Regions from separate parts of the Homo sapiens genome. Here region 1 is linked to region 2. Evidence: promoter capture Hi-C in 16 types of primary human blood cells and fetal thymus (Javierre and others, 2016). All regions are on one chromosome and are shown on one strand. Each heading gives the region's core, a stretch centred on a gene start or on the middle of the fragment in contact. The rest is flanking DNA. Distances are from core to core; before and after follow the strand shown. Region 1 overlaps VAV3 (vav guanine nucleotide exchange factor 3). Region 2 holds the start of VAV3 (vav guanine nucleotide exchange factor 3).

Region 1 (4,357 bases), core at 1,772-4,271, 200 kb after region 2:
ATGGTGCTTATTTTTTTGCATCGCAAATCAAAAGGCTAAGTTTCTTTTACAGGCTTTATCATTACTGAGCGATGTAATCTTCAGTAAGTCATTTTAACTCTCTGAGCCTCTGTGTCCCCATCTGTAAACACCGGAGGTAGATTAGCTGGTACTTAATGCTTCTTCCACTTTTCTTCCAATTCTGGTATTTTATGACACTCTATTTTGGAGTATTAGATTCGCAGAGTCAGTTTCCCTTTCTAAGTTAAAAAAAAATCTCCTGACAACCTATAGGAATTGGAGTATCAAGAAATTTTGCTTAAAATATAATTATCTCTCTTTTCAAATCAAGCAACGTATTTCCTAGTACTAAGAAGTGGCTAATGAATTACTTTGCATCAAGTCTTCGATAAATATTCACATTTTATTAGTAGTGTCTTTTTTCCAGTGGAGAGTTAAGAGAAGCAATAAACCAACTGACCTCTTTGCAAAATATTTGTGCTACAGAGATACCTTCCCTGAAGTGGGTCAGATTCCATGTGATATGAGTTATCTTCTGTCCAGAACAGTTCAGGTCTCTCGTTTTCCTCTCTTCAGATGATTTATGTTCCTTAATTAAAAAGTAGCAAGGAGTAAGAGGTTTAATAATGAAGGAGTTATATGTAGTGATTGGCATAAAATTGTAATAGAGAAAACTTTCTGAGTGTTTAGAGACAAAGTTTATCTCTTGTAAGAGCTTTAACAGAAATTTTTAATTTTGTTTTTGGAATGCATTTATGTCTACTCAAATAACATTAACAGTCATCAAGCCAGTTTGTAAATTCTGCCTGCTATAAAAATTTACATAGAATTAATCTCATTCAAAGTTGGAACTACAAATTAGTCATTACTATAAAAATGAGTGACCCTTATTCTATGACTGTGTATGTGGTATGTATTAAAAATAATTTCTACTGCTATTTTGGTTATCCCTAACAATGGTTTTAAAGAGATGAAGATTCTGCTTGTTTCCCCCTCCAGTTCATTCTTGGTTTTTGTCTTAGAGATTTCTTGTCTTTTTTCCCTTTCAGATTGGTTATTTACGGGCAGTACTGCAGTGGAGTGGAGTCAGCCATCTCTAGTTTAGACTACATTTCTAAGACAAAAGAAGATGTCAAACTGAAATTAGAGGTGCCTATTTATTTTTAGTTTATGACATAAAGCAAAATAAACCTAAAAGCAATGTGTTCCTCTTTATGATCAGTGAAGCAGTACATTTCCCATTATTTTAAATATAATTTCATGTCAATTTTATAAAATATTTAAACAGCTCTATAAAATAGTAATATGGTAGTAATAGTAACAGTCGTTAAAAATCTAACATTTATGGCCCTGTGTTTTACATGCATTATCTCATTAGGTCCTTCTGACTCTGTGAAATAGGTACAATTAATTTTCTCATCTTATGAGAAAGCTGAAGTTCAGAGAGATTATGAATAACTTGCGTAGATAGTAAGAAGTGCAGGACGAGTGAGATACGTTAGATAATGTATATGTAGATTTAAAATGTTTACTAGTTAGCTGGGCAGGGTGGCTCATGCCTGTAGTTCTAGCTACCTGAGAAGTTGAGGCCAAGGAGTATGCACTTGAGCCCGAGAGTTTGAAGCTGCAGTGAGCTATGGTTGCACCATTGCACTCCAGCCAGGGTGGCAAAGCAAGACCCTGTATCAAAAACAAAATAAAAAAGATGTTTACTAAAAATATGACATTTAGAATCAGATGTATTAAAAGGCCATGCATATTGCCCACAGGAAGGAAGAGAAGACGAACACAAATATGGTAGGATTAAATAACATGTGATAAGCACTGTATAATAGGGCTCTGTAAGACTGAATCTACCCACTTCAGTGTGGGTAGATTGTAGAGGATTCATCTGAAGAGGCGCATTTGAGTTAGGTCACCAAAGAATGGGATGAGCTTTGACAGATGAGATTCTATGGAGAGCATTCCTGAACAATTGGTATGTATTGACCAGAACAGTTGGGAAAGTTTGAGAGGTGGCACGTAGGCCGATATAAACAGAGTGCATGATCACAACAGTATATAAGTCTAGAAACCTAGGTTAAGTCGTGTTTTTTTGTACATCATGTTTTTTTTTTTGTTTTGTTTTTTGTTTTTTGTTTTTTTTTTTCCTGAAGAGGAGTTCGAGGACTTCATGCTTTCAAAGAACTTTTGAACAATGTTTGTTGTATCAGTCACTGTATTATCCATGTATTTTGAATTTTATTAAATTTCAGGTAGAGATATATAGCCAGCTCTTAAATTTAACAGCGTGTGGCTTATTTGCCTGTTTAATATCCCTTTTCCTTTTCTTTGTTCAGTGTAGCACTGAGGTCAGGGGAGAAGGGGCAGGTGATTTTCAAATCAGAAGCCCTTCACTGTTTTGCCTCTCTGGCATGATTTCATAGCTCACAACTCCCACAAAGGGAAACTATTGCTTAGACAGTTTGCACGTTAACAGGCCACCAAGTAACTGTACTAGATACGTGATCTTTTTGCTTTATATCTTAATATTCCTTCATTATGTTGACTTTAAGACTGGAGGTAGTTTGAGTCACCCCTAAATAACATCCTTGTAACATTGTTAGTGCAAAGACTTCCTGCTCCTCTTTGCAGAATAGAGCCTCCTAAGTGTAGAGCTGGGAGCCACTGTGACTCAAAATATGATGATAAAATTAAATTTTACAACTTATACACCTACTTCCTAGTAGGGCAACATTAAAGCAGTTTTTCTTAAAATAAAGATATAAAATTGTGCTCCCAGATAGTAGTCAGCAAGTTGTCAATCACACCTCCATTATATTCTCAGTCTTGTTTGAGTGTTGTTCTTCCTTCTTTCAGAGTTATTGTCAAAGTTTTGCCCAATGACCATACTCTGGGACTCTAAGTATGTAGTTTTTGCAGTCAATGCTCGACTTAGGGAAAGAGAGGACATCAGGCTGAGTTTGAAAGGCACAGGGTGAGGTGCCCCTGCTGTCCTTTCTTCAGCTTAAAAGCCCACACTTCTAACCATAGTCCTGATTTGGAAGTATTAAGTCGGATACTTAGTGTAACACTTCAACAAATACTCAGTGGGAGCTGCGTGCCGCAAGCCCCAGCATGATAGAAGGAAAACTACCTTATTCTTGGTGTCTTTCTGCCTTCTTTGTGTCTTCTGTTTTGTGGTTATTTTTGTTCTTGTTGAGTTTTTTGTCTTTTTCTTCTCTACTTTGGAACCAAGATAACATGGGGTGAAGGGCGATGAATCTCTTTATCTTGCCCTATCAGCCTGGCTCATCCTACCTCATTTTATTTTCCATTACAATTGAATTGAGGCTAAGCAAGTGACTGGATGTTTTGGAAGGATTCTTTCTACCCATTATTTACTTTCAACACGAATAAGCATTTTACATTTGAGTCTCTATCTCCCAGGTGTAGCTAATTCCAGCAATGTTGGTTTCTTTACTTCCTGAGCCTGTAACTTAGAATGTAAAGGAACTGACTTTTTTTCTTCAACATTTTGAAACTAATTTCCATAATATAGTGAATTTTAAATATATAATATTTCTGTTCCTACCACTGTGTTGGGATGGCATAACATAAGAAATATAAGCTACAACCTTAATTCCAAGGGCCTTAAAATGCAGCAGAGGAGATAAGACCTACTAATTATAGTAATATTAACAATGTAACTTTCTGTTTGAGACCCATGATCCAGAGCTCTCTACAATCTGTAGAAGTAAGAAACTGGTTGAAATAGTTATCCTTCTAATGAACTGCAGTAATTGATGACACAGCTAGCATGTCAGGATGTGTCCCCAATTCATTTTGACTGATAGCTGTAGACAGACATACTCATTAAGTCACGGATCATTAGAGTTAATGGTGTTTTTTTGGAGCTCCTCATAATATATCATTCCATGTGCCAGAAAAACTAAGTGTGGGCAAAGAAGAAACAAACTTGTGAGCAACAGTGTATTTTCTTAAGCACAACTCCGTCTATGAACTGGAAAGGTCCTTGTGCTGGGATGTGCAATTGTGTCAGGATTTTGGACTTATGAGGTTGCTCACTAATAATAATATTTGTATGGCCCTTTTTTTTTTTTTTTTTGAAGAACACCATAGTTACGTGAGAAACAGTAAAATCAGAAAAGTGACTTGTCCAAGGTCACACCGCCAACAGTTGCCAAATCTTGGCTTTAAGTTCATTCTTTGACACTTCAAAGTAATTTACTCAAAGTCATAATTATTATCAAAAGAACAAACCAGTCAATACTATTTTAAAATAAACCTTTAGGAAAGAAGAGGGTGAAATTAAATACAATCCAAGGCTTCTAAATCTTGGAGTTTAGTAGTAGGT
Region 2 (4,183 bases), core at 1,545-4,044:
CACCAATTTCTGACACTTAAATGTCTTTCACGAGTCACCTATTGGCACTTAGCTCCTTGTTTACGTGAAGAATCCCGTGTCTCCACTAAACTCCTTCCCTTCTAGGCCTTCCATATATTTTCCTGTTGCCTTTCTATCAACTCTGTGGTTTACTATATTTGAGAAGCATTATGTTTTGAAGTCATATATTATATACAGAGAAGTGAAATAGAATATTTGGTCGTTGTTGCCACTTGTTAATGAAAAGTGGCTACTATTGGGTAATATTTATTGAGCTCTAATTATCAGGCACCACACATTCTATGCATTGTATCAGTGCTTCTTGGCTTTTGATGGAAATACATGGGATATGGAGATCTTAAAATTCAGGTTCTGGTTCATTCAGTATGAGAGTAGAGGCCAAACGTCTACAGTGCTGACAAGTTCAAGGGTGATGCTGCTGTCCACAGGCTGCATTTTGAATAGCAAGACATTGTACCATTTGATCCTGACAACAACCCTATTAGTTAGAAATTACTTCTTATGGCCAGGCACGGCGGCTAACGCCTGTAATCCTAGCATTTTGGGAGGCCGAGGCGGGCGGATCACGAGGTCAGAAGATCTAGACCATTCTGGCTAACACGGTGAAACCCTGTCTGTACTAAAAATACAAAAAAAATTAGCCGGGCGTGGCGGCCGGCGCCTGTAGTCCTAGCTACTTGGGAGGCTGAGGTAGGAGAATGGCGTGAACCCGGGAAGTGGAGCTTGCAGTGAGCTGAGATCGCGCCACTGCACTCCAGCCTGAGCGACAGAGCGAGACTCCGTCCACCCCCCACAAAAAAAAAAAAAAATTTCTTATTTCGTATCTATGGAAACTGAACTGTAGAGAATTTATCCAAGGTCATGTTGCTAGAAAGCAGTACAGCTCGGGCTCTAAATCCAGATTTGCGTCCTGGGATAGTGTATATAATGTGGATTTTGGAAATATTCTCCAACATCCAAAGGTGATCTGATGCTACCTGAAAAAAATTCATAGTTTTAGTTTAAATTTTGACCCGTTTAATGAAATTTCTTTTTAATTTCTCTTTATGAAAGACTGTGTTAAATGGTGATTCAAATGTGTTGGATTTTGCTTCTAAAGGTATGTAGAGATTAGTATGATTTATTTGCCAAAATTATGGCCTAGAAAATGTCGTGCTATTGATGGAATCCGCATTGAACACAAGAGGAAATTGCTAGGGAAGGATGCGTGTGAGGAAAGGAAATCCTCAGGCTGATTTATTGTTCAGCGCTGAGTGTAAACAGTGTGCTATCCTTGTCACAGCCAAACGAAAAAGGACGCAATCACTATCCTGAACAGATCATTCTTTTAAAAATAATATTTTGGCCTGCTTATAAAGCATGGTTCGTAATAAAAAATTTGGGCTACAGAAATATAATACAATTAAATTATCCAAACTCCCATCTTTTTGTTTGTTTGTTTGTTTGTTTTTTGAGACAGAGTCTGGCTCTGTCGTCCAGGCTGGAGTGCAGTGGCTGGATCTCAGCTCACCGCAACCTCCGCCTCATGGGTTCAAGCGATTCTCCTACCTCAGCCTCCCGAGCAGCTGGGACTACAGGTGCGTGCCACCACGCCCGGCCAATTTTTTGTATTTTTAGTAGAGACGGGTTTTCACCGTGTTAGCCAGGATGGTCTCGATCTCCTGACCTCGTGATCCGCCCGCCTCGGCCTCCCAAAGTGCTGGGATTACAGGCGTGAGCCACCGCGCCCGGCCTATTTTCTAATTTTAAGTGAATGCATCTCAAAAGGGTGACGAAGGACCACATTCCTATCGAACAGCAATAATTCACTGTGGCAATATCTTGCCACAAATAATTTAAACATTAATTGTGGTTTTGAGGGGCAGTGTGCAGTGGGAGTAAAAGGGGTAGGGTTTAGAGTCTCCAAAAGATTTACTTAAGAAACACGAATGCACTGCTTGTGCACTGCGCAAAAGTTCTGGGGTCAAGTTCCAACTTTCACTAAGGATCCCAGAACAGCCCGGCAGGAGCTGCCCAGGGCTAACGCGCTTTGCTCTCAAACCCGGCCGCCAGTCGCCGACGCATGCGCAGTCTAGCACCGTGGCACAGGCCTTTCTCAAGCAGGTTTTTGTGGGGTCAGCAAAAGGGCCAGAACAGCAACGGCAAACAGTTCCGAGCCTGACAGTGCAGGGGCAAACCAGCTCCAAGTGAAAATCACCTCGCGAGGAAATAGGCTCAGGGATCGGGGCGGTTTCCGCAGGCGTCTCCACACACGCACTCTCACTCACTTTGAGGGTGCCAAAACACCACTAGGGGCAACTAGGAGGAATAGGCTGAGGAATCAGCTATAGAGAATGGAGGGGATAGAGCTGCAAGGGGCGAGGGGGCGACGATCTCTAAAACTTTCAGCGCCGTGCTCTACTGATGCTCTAGGCACTTTTTTCATTGCTCTGGGGAGTCTGGGTGCCCCAATTAATCCGTCGCTCCTTTGAGCATTTGTTGTTTAGGGGGTCCTGGGGGACCCCATCGTATTACAGTATTCAGCCACACTCCCCGCAAAGCCGGGAAGCCGCCCCGAGAGAAGACCCCAGGACGCCGGGGGCTGCGTGAGCCCCGCAAGGCTGCAGGCGGGGGCGCGGGATCCCCTTTCTGGCCGCCGCCCCCCTCCGCCGGCCCCTCCCCCGCGCCCCGCCCTCGGCCACAGACCCCAGCCCCGGCCGCCGGCGCGCTCCCACCCGCGCGTCTGGGGACTTGCGGACCGCAGCGAGACCGGCCGGCGTGCTGGGCATGCTCAGTGGCGGGCCGGGCGCTGGAGTCGGAAGCCTGTGCGCGGCAGCCGCCGCCGAGCCGGCCGGGGCGCACGGAGAGCGCGCGGGACTCGCTGCAGCGGCGGCCGGGTCGCGGCGCACCCGGGCCGGGACCGGAGCCGAGCCTAGCGCGGCGCCCGCGACCCGTCAGCCGCGGCTCCTGCTCCCTCGATCCCGCGCGGGGAAAGGGCCGGCGGCTGTTGGCGTCGGCGGGGCGCGGAGGAACCGCGGCGGCGGCGGCGGCGGCCGCATCCTTGCCGCCCGCCCCGGCCCAGCCGCGTCCCGGAGCCGTCGGGCATGGAGCCGTGGAAGCAGTGCGCGCAGTGGCTCATCCATTGCAAGGTGCTGCCCACCAACCACCGGGTGACCTGGGACTCGGCTCAGGTGTTCGACCTTGCGCAGACCCTCCGCGATGGAGTCCTGCTCTGCCAGCTGCTTAACAACCTCCGGGCGCACTCCATCAACCTGAAGGAGATCAACCTGAGGCCGCAGATGTCCCAGGTGAGGAGGCCGGCACGGGCGCCCCGCCTCCAGCCGGCAGCTCCCATTAATCATGCGGCTAATTTCTTTGTGTAAATGCAAACGTCTAGGTGCGCTGAGCTTGCCCTGCTTCCCAGCCTTCTGCTTTGGGACCACTTCGGCACCACTTTGGCGTTTCCTACCTTGGCTTGAAATGGTTTAGCTCCTCAAGCTGAATGCGAAAGCTTTGCGTCCGGAGATGGTGTGAGGATTTCGTAAAGGCTTTCTGTGAGGCGGGAAAGAAATAAGTTGTCTTAGGGTGCCCTTCACCTACTCTGCGTGTGTGTGGCGCGACAAAGGGAATTTGATCAAGCTCTTCTATAATAACGAAGGGGAGGGACGAAACGAGGTGATGGGGTAATTTGCCTTTAGTCTCTTCTTTTGCTTTGCGTCTTGTACTCATGTTTTCCTAAAAGAGGAACCATGACATACATGAGGACTCGAGGAAGTGAAGGGCGTTTGGTCCCGTTATCTGTCCAGGAGTGACATTGGTCAAAGGGAAGAACAGGGAGCAGAACCCGGAGGCCGCCCCCAGGGCCCCTGAGCTGGTGGCCAGCCGGCAAGCTCCCGTTTACAGCTCTTCCTAAGCCATGTGAGAAGGAGCGAGTCCAGCCTCTCTCAGCAGCGACAGGAAATGAGAAGTTTCACTAGAGATTCCGCTTTCCTTCCTGCAGTGCCCTGCTCAGGTGCTGTGGTGCCGGTCGGCTCCTGGGGCTGGAGCTGCCTCTTTGAGGGTTAAGCCAGACACCTCTGGAAGGTTGGGTGCACCCTAGAGTCAGCTCAAAAGTCACAGTTCAGTGGAAGAGTAGTTTATTTGTCCTGTCGGAAAATTTTTGTACAGAAGGATGTTAAACTCG

Evidence for each region. The method cuts DNA at HindIII sites, captures the fragments that hold promoters and counts their contacts. A CHiCAGO score of 5 or more calls a contact.
Region 1: a fragment that was not itself captured here is called in contact with the fragment with the promoter of VAV3 in region 2 in 6 of 17 cell types (total B cells, naive B cells, naive CD8 T cells and 3 more); the score reaches 7.0 in total B cells.

Annotation. Positions count from the first base shown.
Region 1 is chr1:107,761,868-107,766,224 of GRCh38, reverse strand. VAV3 (vav guanine nucleotide exchange factor 3) reads left to right here. Exons shown (of 27, transcript NM_006113.5): 9 at 1,050-1,149. Among named protein-coding and RNA genes, the nearest start is that of MIR7852, 130 kb to the left of the region's middle. The HindIII fragment of the contact is 8,943 bases long and covers 1-4,357 here.
Region 2 is chr1:107,963,791-107,967,973 of GRCh38, reverse strand. VAV3 (vav guanine nucleotide exchange factor 3) reads left to right here and starts at 2,794. Exons shown (of 27, transcript NM_006113.5): 1 at 2,794-3,308. The coding sequence starts at 3,105. VAV3-AS1 (VAV3 antisense RNA 1) reads right to left here and starts at 3,531. Exons shown (of 3, transcript NR_046653.1): 1 at 3,470-3,531. RefSeq lists enhancers at 2,008-2,077, 2,013-2,307, 3,654-3,783. The HindIII fragment of the contact is 4,630 bases long and covers 1-3,513 here.